Regions from separate parts of the Homo sapiens genome. Here region 1 is linked to region 2. Evidence: promoter capture Hi-C in 16 types of primary human blood cells and fetal thymus (Javierre and others, 2016). All regions are on one chromosome and are shown on one strand. The core of a region is centred on a gene start or on the middle of the fragment in contact, and the rest is flanking DNA. Distances in the headings are between cores, read along the strand shown.

What was found. Contacts are between HindIII fragments. The CHiCAGO score rates a contact against its expected background, and 5 or more counts as called.
Region 1: a fragment that was not itself captured here is called in contact with the fragment with the promoter of DIS3 in region 2 in 1 of 17 cell types (total B cells); the score reaches 5.4 in total B cells.

The regions. Positions count from the first base shown.
Region 1 is chr13:31,155,637-31,162,129 of GRCh38, forward strand. It overlaps HSPH1 (heat shock protein family H (Hsp110) member 1), which reads right to left and starts at 6,268. Exons shown (of 18, transcript NM_006644.4): 1 at 5,840-6,268; 2 at 3,170-3,227; 3 at 1-18. The coding sequence starts at 5,946. RefSeq lists enhancers at 5,362-5,907, 5,908-6,453, 6,065-6,144, 6,275-6,394. The HindIII fragment of the contact is 798 bases long and covers 4,523-5,320 here.
Region 2 is chr13:72,777,307-72,783,845 of GRCh38, forward strand. DIS3 (DIS3 exosome endoribonuclease and 3''-5'' exoribonuclease) reads right to left here and starts at 4,594. Exons shown (of 21, transcript NM_014953.5): 1 at 4,299-4,594; 2 at 3,540-3,697; 3 at 881-1,074; 4 at 114-187. The coding sequence starts at 4,526. PIBF1 (progesterone immunomodulatory binding factor 1) reads left to right here and starts at 4,827. Exons shown (of 18, transcript NM_006346.4): 1 at 4,827-5,043; 2 at 6,117-6,415. The coding sequence starts at 6,164. RefSeq lists enhancers at 3,786-4,700, 4,618-4,727 and a silencer at 4,288-4,337. The HindIII fragment of the contact is 4,441 bases long and covers 4,161-6,539 here.

The DNA of each region.
Region 1 (6,493 bases), core at 3,672-6,171, about 42 Mb before region 2:
GTTTGCATGAGTGATTTGCTGCAAAAAGAAGTTTGAGATTTTAATTTTTTTCTTTAATTTCACCACCTACCAGTAATTTTAGTAATTTTATTTATTCACTTTACAACTCAAACCAATCCTATGAGTGCACATAAGTTGCCCTGAGGCCCACCAATTTCACTGAATTTCCCATCTATGAACAGATTTTATTTATACTTTTTCCTTCTCCTATAGAAAATGCCAGAAAGTAAGCAGCAAGAGGGAACAAGAGGCAAAATAGTGTGACGACAGACTTTAAAGATTTCAAAATCTGCAAGATAAACTCAAAGACAGTGAAAACTATCACTAAAGCTCTGAACAAACACACTAGAATTTTATCACTGTTTCATTCCTTTTTTTCCCTGCTAAACTTGTGAGGTTTTATACCCAATGAATGAATAGATCTAGTAGCACTATAGCCAAATTATAATTTTGTTTAAAAAAGTTAATTTTTGGCCAGGCGCGGTGGCTCACGCCTGTAATCCCAGCACTTTGGGAGGCCAAGGCGGGTGGATCACGAGGTCAGGAGATGGAGACCATCCTGGCTAACACGGTGAAACCCCGTCTCTACTAAAAATACAAAAAATTAGCCGGGCGTGGTTGCGGGCACCTGCAGTCCCAGCTACTCGGGAGGCTGAGGCAGGAGAATGGCATGAACCCAGGAGGCGGAGCTTGCAGTGAGCCAAGATCGTGTCACTGCACTCCAGCCTGGGCGACAGAGCGAGATTCCGTCTCAAAACAAAAAAAAAAGTTAATTTTTATAGCTGGGCATGGCAGCACATGCCTGTAATCCCAGCTAATTGAGAGGCTGAGGCAGGAGAATCGCTGGAACCTGGGAGGCAGAAGTTGCAGTGAGCCAAGATAGTGCCATTGCACTCTAGCTTGGGTAACAAGGGTGAAACTCATTCTCAAAAAAAAAAAAAATTAAAGTTAATTTTTATAGTCTAATAAATTGCTAAGCGGCCAGGATAAACACTCTGTGCCAGAAAATGCATGGATCGCTACCTTTCCTAGCAATAGCATGAAATGCTAGTTATCTACACCAAAAAGTAGAAGGCAGAAGAGTAATTCAACAAGTTTCTAAGTGACCTAATGTTTTCAACTGCATGTGCGTATTCTGAAGACTTGAGAGCCATGGTTTTTAAAAACAAGAAATTGAACTGCTATCTTACACAACTGGCGCACGTTTGTTAAACTGTTGTAAAAGATGGTGTTTTTTTAATCCACCGTTTTGGTCAAATATTTTAGGTAAACTCTAGATTGAAAAGCCCCACTTCAGAGCACATTTCACTCAAGGGTACCTCATTTGAAACAAGAAATAACTGTAAGATTGAAAACTAAGACTTCTGAAATTATTAGCTTAAAAATACCAAAACAGTATATTATTTACTTTTTCTCTTACCTAATTTTTTGAATAAAGGGAAGAATACAGTTAGCTTGGCAGTACTAGTTTTCAAACAATATAGAATTCAAGCAAGTTTAGGTCTTAAAATTCCTTATGTGTCTAAAACTGAGATGAAGTATGTCTAGTAGTATACTGGCCAAATATGAGTCTCAACAGATTCTTCTCAAGTAATCACAAGGATGCAACAGAATTTTAGGTCTAGGCTATCAATATCCTCAATGGGCACATTTAAAGGATTGTTACAACTAAAGTCCCACTATCCTTTTGAACATATTTTGAGTGTGCCTATTTCTCCTTTCCTTTTTCACCCCTTTTAGTTATCTCTCTCTTCCAATGTAACAAGGAAATAAAGTTAAATCCAACCTACATATTCAAAGGATTAGAAAACATGAAACCATTTTCTAATGAAAGCAGATTCATAAGTTTGATAAAGTGCCAATTTCTTATTAAACATAAGCATTTTAAGAGATGTTTTTGTTTTCAAATCTGACCTGATTTTTTAATAGGTCAGTACTAAATACATTCCATAATATATAATACAGTACTCAATCTAATCCAAAATTTTCTTTCTTAGCAATCTATTTTCTGTATTTAGAAAAATGTTTTTTATTTCAAAGAGCCTCTCAAAGAGCATTTCACGTATCTTTTACTGTTTTTCTCTCCACCTCCAAGGGGTCTGTCTAGATCAGTGCTGTTCAACAGAATTATATGTAAGTCATAAAGGAGAGCTACCTACATAAAATTTTGTAGCAGCCACGTTAAAAACTGGTAAGAGATTAGATTAATTTCAATTAACTTAGGCCAATATATTTTAGGAACTATCACTTCAATAAGTAGTCAACAGAAAAAAATTGATCAGATACCGTACTTTACTTTTCAATTCGATTAAAAAGTAAAAAATCTCATGTGTATTTTATACTTCACATTTTGATTCAGACGAGCCACATTTCAAATGCTCAATACAGTACATGGCTACCATATTTTTTAAACAGCACAGGTCTGGACAAAAATTTCTCCCAGTCCTACCTTAATTACTAAGTAACCTGAAAATGCTTTTAAACACATAATTTCTTAGAAGTTCCTTCTATAAAAGGAATCTCTTAAATGAGTATCACGAGAAACTTCACAAGAACTTAAAATGCCTTGTTTATAATTTCTAAAAATTAGATAAATGAAAGGCAGCAAAAAGTTACTAAAAGTTAAAGTCAGCAGGCCAGGCGTAGGCTCACACCTGTAATCCCAGCACTTTGGGAGGCTGAGACAGATGGATCACGAGCTCAGGAGTTCGAGATCAGTCTGACCAACATGGTGAAACCCCATCTCCACTAAAAATACAAAAACTAGCTGGGCGTGGTGACACGCGCCTGTAATCCCACCTACTCAGGAGGCTGAGGCAGGAGAATCGCTTTAACCCGGGAGGCGGAGGTTGCAGTGAGCCGAGATCGCGCCACTGCACTCTAGCCTGGGTAACAGAGCGAGACTCTATCTCAAAAAAAAAAAAAAAAAAAAAAAAAGTTAAGGATGGCAGATTAGAAAGTTAAAGTCGATCTTAATAAAACAAGGGAAAGGGAACAGAAAGGAAAGAGTGTCATCATCTGAAGGTTCATAAAGAATACTTGAATTACATTTTTAAAACTCAAAAATACATAAACTTAGGCACACTTTACCCTCTTATATGTCTCTTGAGATTTTCCTTTTAAAAACTCCCCCCTTAAAAAGTGATCCGAATTCTCTTAAAGAACATACCTGATTTTTGGCTGCAACTCCGATTGTTCTATTTTTTGATCCAAATGATATGACTGACCTAGAAAAAAATATATTCCAAAAAATTAAAAAGCATAAAGGTTGATATTTTAAACTGATAAGAGAAAAATACTAACATAAATGTCCTACCCATTAGGGGATAGGGAACAAGCATAGCACAATTTTAAGGTCTATAGCTTTCATCAGATACTCAAAGGGGGCTTCCACTTAATTGCTGCTCTGAGATCCAACCTAGGTGGCAGTTCTACTACCCCAAAAACCTCTGCTCGTGGCTCAGGAATTCTCCAGGTTCCAGTTATTATGAACCGAACATTAACTTTGAAAATGTTTTAAATATGTTAACGGTATTATTAATTTGACCCTACACACGACTAACAAAAAATAGGATGTGACTCTACCTTTCAGTCACCAACTCTGTACAAATCTAAATGTCATTGTCATACCGACTTTTGTTCTGATATACCACCGGCTTCTTTAGGAATCAAAAGTTTTTATGCAAACGCAAGCAAATGAACCCAAGTTACACCTCTGAAGTTTAAAGAGCACAAAGAGGTTCCCATCTGGGAGATTCTGCCGGAGAAAGAAAAAAATGATGCACAACAAGTACCATGGCAAAACAGAATATAAATGTCGAGGGAAAGGAGTGACTAATCAGTTACATCAAATCTGTTTTGAAGAGATGGAAAGTGACTTACAACTGTGAAACAACCTTCTCAGCCACCATGGAAATGGAACCGCACAATAACAGAGCAGAGACTAGCTTAAAAAGTCTTGTGAGAAGAAGGTAAGTGAATTAGGTTTTGGATTAGAGGAGTTATCTAATTCTGGATTACTAATTCAAATATAATCTAATTTTGGGTGAGTTACTCCTACCTGCTTAGGTATGAGTAATGGTAAACGAGATGAGCAAAACGGGAAAATACTGAGGGCATTAAGTACCACCCTTAAGTTTAAATTTGCTATAATAGAAACATCCTCAAACTATATTATCTGAGCAAGTGTTAAATAAAATAGCATCCTAAAAGCCAGAGAAGTGTCCAAGCAGAAGCTAGACAAGAAACCGTCAAAATCAGAGCATCACTGTAAGCTCTGAATAACCATACACTTGCAGAATGGATCTACTCATTTTCCTAGGGGAGAATCAAATTAATTGTACTAAATAACAATTAGTAGCTGATACAATAGAATCCACCACAATTATAGTTTAACAAACATATTAAGGGGAACTCCAATACTGCCCTCAGTTCACATTTTTCAGGGCCATACCTGTTGTCTTTGATTTCACACAGTAGTCCCTGTATAACACAATTTTTTTTCCCACTCTCTTCTCTGAAAAGCTTTTCTTTGTTTTATTGGATCAACCAGAACAAAGTATAAACTGTATCTAGGCATGAAAGCCTGAAATACTGTTTTCTTTCTTACTAAACTCCAATTAAAAAAACCTTAACCAAAACACAAACTTAGATCTGCAGGGGTAGACGTACAGGTTGCTCAGAACAGTCTTCCTAACGTTACTAACATTGCCAAATATTTTGCCTCAGATTTTCCACTCAACTTTCATAAACGTTCTCAGCACCCAAATAATTGTATTACCCCAGTCATTCATTCTACCTTTAGGTTCAATGTTTTCATTTTGCACTTTTCATCCTGAGCTTGGGACATTTGAAAAAAATTAATAGGTACAGTATTTTCCTTGAGATGAAATCATTTGTTTTCATCAATGCACATGCAGATATGTTTGTATATATTCTCGTCCGAAAATATCCCTTCACGAAACTTGCTTTTTAAAATGTTGCCCTTTGCCCACCCTATGCTCCTATAGAATATTTAGTTCAGTGACGACATCCATCCTCTTTTGGCGTCCTAGCACAAAAGTATGCAATTTTTATTCTCTTTTAAATAAACTGTGCAAAATTAATTTTAAAAATACGGTTTACAATTCCTCATGAATGGCAAAGAGCAAAAAAAAAGACGTTTACATCTTTCGACAATGATCCCGGGCATTAAGGCCAACAATGTTAGCAACGAAGAGACTGGGTAAAAAGAGGTGGGCTAATCTTTCATAGGACTGCTTCCGTGGTCGCTAACAACAATCCGCCTGCTCACTGGACAAGCAGCGACACAAGCTCTGGAAGCTTCCAGTTCATTTCGAGATTCACAATGCGGAAGAAAAAGGCCGGCAGCCCCGCTCCGCGGTGCGCAAAGATATGCGCGAAGGGAGGAGGACAAGCTGGAGGCGGCTCAGCCAGCTCAGAGAGGCCGGGTGGGGATACGGGGGCGGCCGCGGAAGGCGCAGGCTGCAGCCTGCCAAGAAAAGGGAGCGAAGTTGCGGGCTTTGCCGCAGCCCGACCCCCAGTAGGTTTTGAAAACCCCCAATAGGAAGCCCGCACAAGGTGACGACCCTTAGAGTCTCGACTCTGGGACTCCTCTCACCCCCGTGAATCCCTGAGACAATCCCTTCTCCAATTTGTGATGGCAAGCCCCCCATCCCTCCTCTGGCCGGGTCGCTGGTCCCTAGTTCCACGGAGGGGTGCGCCGCTGCCCAAACGCCTCCGTTTGCCGCGGTGATCCGTACAGCCAGCCCGCGATCTTGGGTCCCCACACTAAGGGCCCAGAACCTCCTCCCATCCACCCTCGCAGACTCCCACTTACGGGGTGCACCGGTCGCTGAACTCATTGGCGATGGTCTCGATGCCCCCGGCCCGGGCTACCGCGATGTAGCAGCTCTGCGAGCCCACGTCCAACCCCACCACCGACATGGCCGGCTCGCGGTCCGCCTCCGCCTCGGGTCTCGGTCTGCGTCCTCCGGCCCCCTGCCTGCTTCTCCTGCCGCCGCTTTCTGCCCTGGCCGCGTTCTGCTCCGGCCCGCGGGGTCTGGCCGTTCCTCTGACACTCAGAAGGACACACAGACAGCCGCGGCCTGTCAGGAGCCTCCTACTCCCCCGGGGACAGCGGCGGCTGGCTGATAAGAAACCCTGGGAGAAAGCGGGGCTCAGCCTCCGCAGGTCGCTCCGCACCTCGGGTTGCCTGCCTCACTCTGCCGCGGCTCGCACACCGGCGCCGGCGCTGAACTACCGACCCAAAAGGGGAGGTCCCACTTCCTCAGCCTTATGTATCGCACTGATCAGAACTTTCCAGAATCTGCGGCATTTACTCACCGGCGCCTCCACCGGCCCCTCCACGTGCCACTTCCGCTTCCTTCTTCTCGAGCCTTCTGGAAAGATTCTACCCAATGGGCAGCCGGTCCCCGGAGAACGGCCGCCGTTGCCATGGCAGCGACAGGGCCGCTCCCGTGCCATTGGCTCA
Region 2 (6,539 bases), core at 3,344-5,843:
AAATCCAGCTTACCCACCGACATTCCAATTTTTAAATTTGGTAACTATATGCCTAATATTCCAAAGTGGCTATTTTAATATTTTTACTTTTCAAAAACAAAACAAAAACATACCCCTTCTTCAGACAAACAAGCAAGACGATCTATGAGTTCGGGGTTAGCAGTTAGGCTCTTTACATATTCTTCACCTGAAAAAATAAGTTTATGTTGTTTTTGATAAGTGTTTTTTCCTTAGATATGAAAAAAATGGATAGTCTTGTTTGCGACAGTATACACGTCATTCTTTCATTCATTGAGACACACTGAGAGTCTCACTCTGTCTCTCAGGCTGGAGTGCAGCGGCGCAATTACACATCACTACAGCCTAGAATCCCTGGGCTCAAGCTACCTTCCTGCCTTAGCCTCCCGAGTAGCTGGGACTATAGTTACATACTACCATGCACGGCTTTTTTTTTTTTTCCTGTAGAGCTATAGTCTCCCTATGTTGCCCAGGCTGGTCCTGAACTCCTGGTCTCAAGCAAGCCTCTTGCCCTGACCTCCCAAAGTGCTGGGATTACAGCACCTGGCCTCAATTTATTTAAAAAACAAAACCCAAAAATCTGTTGATGTGATCATACCTAAGCAGAAGCAGGGGTTCCAGTATATTTATGAGATTTCATTGCTAAACCAGTTGCAAATAGTGAGGGGAAAATTAACAGCCACTGGGCACAACATATTTAGGTTAAAAACTATGTGAAATTTAAAAATACAAAAATATCACATGAAGTTATATAGGACTACGAAAATACTAAATAGTAAAGTGAACATCTGACTATAGGCCTAATGATTATTTTTACACGCATTTGCAAACATGCACTAAGTACTTCTACATTTAGACTTACAAGTGAAAGCTGGTATTCCTTCTTCTATGGCTTTCTCTTTGTTTCTCCTGTCATTTGTTATGAAGATAACTTGCAGCTGGTTGTCTGCTGACATTTTTTTCAAATGTTCATTGTACCATTTTGCTGCTACTCGAATCGCTCTATCATTCCTGTCATTAGCATTTTCTCCCTGTTCTTGTTCTACATAGGTTTCTCTAAATGGAAAGAAAAAACGAAATAAAAGGAAATCAGTAGAAACAAGGATATGTGAAAACTCTTAGCACATAAATGCTTAACCACTAAACTAGAAAAAGTCAATGGTATATCTTTTCTCTTGAATGTATTCAGATGTACACCTCAGAGAAGAAATCAAGATTCTTATAATTAAGTTTTTAAGAAACAATTTGCTTGGAAAAGAAGAAAATTATGTTATTAAGGGGACAAGAAAAAGGCTAATACAATTTTATTTCCTAAAAAGAAAAATTCAAGATCAGAATTTATACTTTAGGTTGAGACACTAAATAATAGTTTGTTGACAAATTATAATACAATTTCACAGGTATGATAATCAGATTTCATTCAAACTGTAGGTTAATAGCAATTCCTAAAAGCTACAAATAGTATAATTAGATCATTTATAATCAGAATTCTACAGTCATTAATAAATAATGCATATAAATTATCCATGGTAAACACTAATAGCTGAAGCTATGTAGAGACTGAAAAGTCAGGTATATTAATAGATATTACGTATTTCTTCTATCTAAACTCCCAAGTATGTCAACACATTCATCTATTTCTTTAAATCTGTTCATCAAAGCCAGGTTTAAGTACAACAGCAAAGTTCACTACAATAGCTTCCAGTACTTAATGGTAATAGATTCAATTTAATAATTTGATTTATATTAATAGTTTTAGAATTATTTTATTCCTCATCGTTGAATGCACTTGCTAATGCTTTTTTTTTTTTTTTGAAACAGAGTCTTGCTCTGTAGCTCAGGCTGGAGTGCAGTGGCATGATCTCAGCTTACTGCAACCTCTACCTCCGGGTTCAAGTGATCCTCCCAACTCAGCCTCGCAAGTAGCTGGGACTAGAGGCATGTACCACCATAACCAGCTAATTTTTGTATTTTTAAGAGACAGGGATTTTCCAGGTTGGCTAAGCTGGTCTGGAACTCCTGGCCTCAAGTGATCTGCCCACCTCAACCTCCCAAAGTGCCAGGATTACAGACATAAGCCACCACGCCCAGCTGCTAATGTTTTAAGCTCATCAGTGAAAGACACAGTCATAAATTTTTGAATTGGTTTTAAACTTGGGTCTTTCTGCACTGAAAAACAAGTGATGTTGCTATTTCTGGATTTCAAGGAGGTACTAACAATAAGAAGCCTACAAGGGCTTTACTGGTATTCTTTACAAGAACATTGAAGTTTGAGATATAAGAATCAAGAAAGTTGAGATATTAAGGTTTTTAAAAATGTGCATAATCTGATGGAATTTCATTACCAGAAGTCTACACTCTAATCCAATGGTTCTCAATTGAGTGAATTCACCCCTCAGGGCATTTTGTATCATTACAACTGAGTGGTGGTGGTGGTGGTGGTGGTGGGGGGGGTAAGGGGTGGTGATCCTGCCAAATAGGCTAGGAACACTGTTAAACATACTACAATGTATAAAACAGCCTTTCCACCACAAAAAAATTATTCAGTTCAAAATATCTATAATGCCAAGATTGAGAAGCCCTGATCTAATCCAATAAAAGTACCATACTCATCATAGATTATTTATGTAATATAACGTAATAGGCAATATCATATTTTTGAGACCACACACTGAGTTCAAAGGTCTTGAATCTAAAAGCACAACAAAGAATTATATTCCTGGCCAGGCACGGTAGCTCATGCCTGTAATCCCACCACTTTGAGAGGCTGAGGCAGGTGGATCACGAGGTCAGGAATTCGAGACCAGCCTGACCAACATGGTGAAACCCTGTCTCTACTAAAAATACAAAAATTAGCCTGGCATAGTGGTGCGTGACTGTAATCCCAGCTACTCAGGAGGCTGAGGCAGAAGAATCGCTTGAACTTGGGAGGTGGAGGTTGCAGTGAGCAGAGATCACACCACTGCACTCCAGCCTGGGTGACAGAGTGAGACTCCATCTCAAAAAAAAAAAAAAAAAAAAAAAAAGAATTCTATTCCTTAACCTAATCTTGCTCAATGTAATCAGCTGCAAAGTATTAAACTTTTAAAAAGACCATTAAGAATAAATCTACTTTCTATTTTTAAACAAAATAGAAACTTCACAAACTCATATATTTTATTACCCTCTGTTAGTTGTTCACATAATATGGTATTCCAGGAACTTAAGCAAATCTCATCTTCCAAGATTCTATGGTCCAACTCATGCTAAAACCAATTCAAAATGAAAACATTTTGGAAATTAAAGTACCTATTGTAGTCTAGGAGTCAGCAGACCTTGGTTTTAGGCTTGAGCCCATCAATGCCTGTGTGACCTTAGAGAGATCCACTTAGCATTATCTTCTGCACAGCCATGTAAGAATTAAATAAGGTATGAAATCTATCACTTATCTTCTGACAATGTCATAAATTACTCACAGGAACCCTCTCCCGAATTTTGCTAATCCTGTGGTTTTCTGATATTTAACGTAATATTCCTCCTACCTATGGTGCTCATTAGTGAAAGTATAGAAATGCTTCTCTTGGTTATTAGTCACATCTCGGATGCGTTTATATACGGGGGCACTGCGATTTCTCACTTCTTGAAGAACTGTTTGTAGCACAATTACATTCCTGATGGCAGGGTCCTCAAGAACATCAATCTTAAAGAAAGATAAAGTTAATTTTTCCTATATTCATTTGTAAATAGCTCTGTCAAACATAAAATCCTGTTTTATGTTGGGCATAAATACTTTATGTTTTAAAAACACTGAATAAGTTAAGCCAAGAAGCTATTTGGCTATAGAAAACGAGACAATAGTCACTAAACCCTTCAGATCTATTAAAAAAAGCACACTTAAACAGACCAATCACAAGACTTCGTAGAATTAAGGGTATTAATAAAGGAATACGTTGGCCCACATAGTTTTTTGTTCCTAGGCACTTACAAGCTGCCTGGGAGTCGCAGGCTGGAGGCCACAGAAGCCCAGGTCCCCGGCCTCCAGGCACTTACAATCTAAGGCAGAAGAGACACCAGGAGTTAGAAAAATAACGTGTCTGAACTACGACTCCAAGAACTAAATTTTTTAAAGCACAAGGAAAAGAACCTCGGCCTGGGGAACAGGAAGCTTCGGTCCCGAGGGGGTTTCCCTTTCGCTAGGTATGTGACACTGCCAAAGACCCGCCTCCCTGGGCCTCAGTTTCCCTGTCATACCCCCTTGTCCCCGTGGGGCCGCGCTGTCCGCGGTTCGCCCGCCCACGCACCTGGTGCAGTAACACATTAGTGTCGGGCAGCAAGTAGTGCGGTTGCGGGCAGACGCTGCTCGCCGGGTCCTGGGGCTGCGGCTCCAGGGCCGGCCCCTCGTGCGCCCCTCCACACGCTGCGCACCCGGGCGCACCGCAGCCGATGTCGTCTCGCAGGTAGTGCTCGCGCACGATCTTCATCACGCCGCCCGCCCGGGTCTTTTTTAAGAACGTCTTGGACTTGAGCATCTTGCCTCGCCGCGCAGAATCCTAACCCCAGCAGCGCTCTTCCAGCAAAAGGCGTCAATCTAGAATACGCCTAACCCCGGAGGTTCTTCCCTTTCCATTCCCGGATATTAGTAACACTTCTCGCGGGAAAATGCCGAGATAAACATTGGTTGGCTCTCTGACGGCCGCGGGGATTGGGCGAGAGTGGGGAGGGGCGGCAAAGCAAGGCGAGGAGCCATTTCCGCCCGTGGCCTAGGCGGGGCTTCCTTCTGGACGCCACCTCACAACGTGTGTTGCTTTCCGCTCCTCGGAACATCCGGGAGAGTTGACTTCCGGCGGCTTGTGGGAGTGCTGGTTCTGTCCTCCTTGCGGGTGCGGAGATGGTTGTCTTGGTTACGGGTCCTAACGGTCCCCTGCCTTGAAATCCCTTGTTGAGGGCCTGCAACCTTGTGCTTCCGACCGGAGACGCCTTTGGTCCCTCGGTGTCTGCACTGGCTGCTGGTCAAGGCTTCAGTGTGGAGTAATTGACACTTTCGAGGTAACTTGCGACTATCATCGCTTTCTTTCCCGCGTGGGGCAAGGAATCCCCCGAGCTGCCAAGTTTGGGGCTTAATTTTCACGCCGAGTGTATAGGCAGTCCCCGTCTCGGGCCCTTTGTAATCGAGGAGAGAATTTGTCTTTGAATTCACTTTTTCTTACCTATTTCCCTTCAAAAAGAAGGAGGGAGGCCGATCTTAGTATAGTTCTCGCTGTTTCCCCTCCACACACCTTTCCTTATCATTCAGTTTAGAAAAACTGAAATATTTAATAGCATAATTTGTTATATCATGAGGTATTAAAACAAGGTAGTTGCTAACATTCTTATGAGAGAGTTAGAAGTAAGTTCTATTTAGAATTTCTTGAATTTTTCTTATATCCTGTTGTTTTCATTCTGCTATCTATAAAAAATGTTTTTGTCCCCGTTTTCCCTATTTAAAACATCTTCAATGATGCCTCATTGCCTGTAGAATAAAATCCAACCCTATTTTGACATTTAAGGCCTTCCAGTCTTGATCGTTAAGGGCGTGTGTGTGTGTGTGTGTGTGTGTGTGTGTGTTTGTGTTTGTGTTGGGGGGGCGGTGAAAGGAGTAACTATTCCAAGACTTGGCTTTGTTTTTTTACTTCCACTTACGTATCATTAATAACTGCATGATTTCTCCTTTTTACCATGCCTGTCCAAATCTTTAAAGATTCTAAGTGCTACCTCTGTGTAACGTTTCCCTGACCAACTCAGACGTGATTTCTGTTATCTTTGAGCATGTGTTGGTTTTAGTGGTGCCATTCTTGATTATAATGGGCTTTTTTCTTCATCTTGTACATTTCTTTGTTTCCTCCAAGTAAGATTCCTCCCCGCAGGAACTGTTTTTTTAAGTTTCTCGAAGGCTGACTTCATATTAGGAATTAATGTGTTTGATTTGAGCATTAACTTAACTGCAATAATCTGTTCTAGATTTGGGATGCACTAAATTGCCTAATATTTATTTAAGGAATCCTTAGTCTCTCTTTAATACAGTCCATGATTTCTGTAGTTAATTTTATAGTACATTTGAATTAATGTTTTTTAACCTACAGAATATTAAAATCAAATTAGAGAAGAAAACTGATCCATAATAATAAAAATGTCTCGAAAAATTTCAAAGGAGTCAAAAAAAGTGAACATCTCTAGTTCTCTGGAATCTGAAGATATTAGTTTAGAAACAACAGTTCCTACGGATGATATTTCCTCATCAGAAGAGCGAGAGGGCAAAGTCAGAATCACCAGGCAGCTAATTGAACGAAAAGAACTACTTCATAATATTCAGTTACTAAAAATTGAGCTATCCCAGAAAACTATGATGATCGACAATTTGAAAGTGGATTATCTTACAAAGGTAAGATCAGGTTTAAATTTTGTGTTCTATATGCTTTATTGTCTTCAAACGGCAGGTAAATAAGAATTAAATACACACATTATCTGAACTTGAAATGATACATTTATATTTCTTGACAAGTACA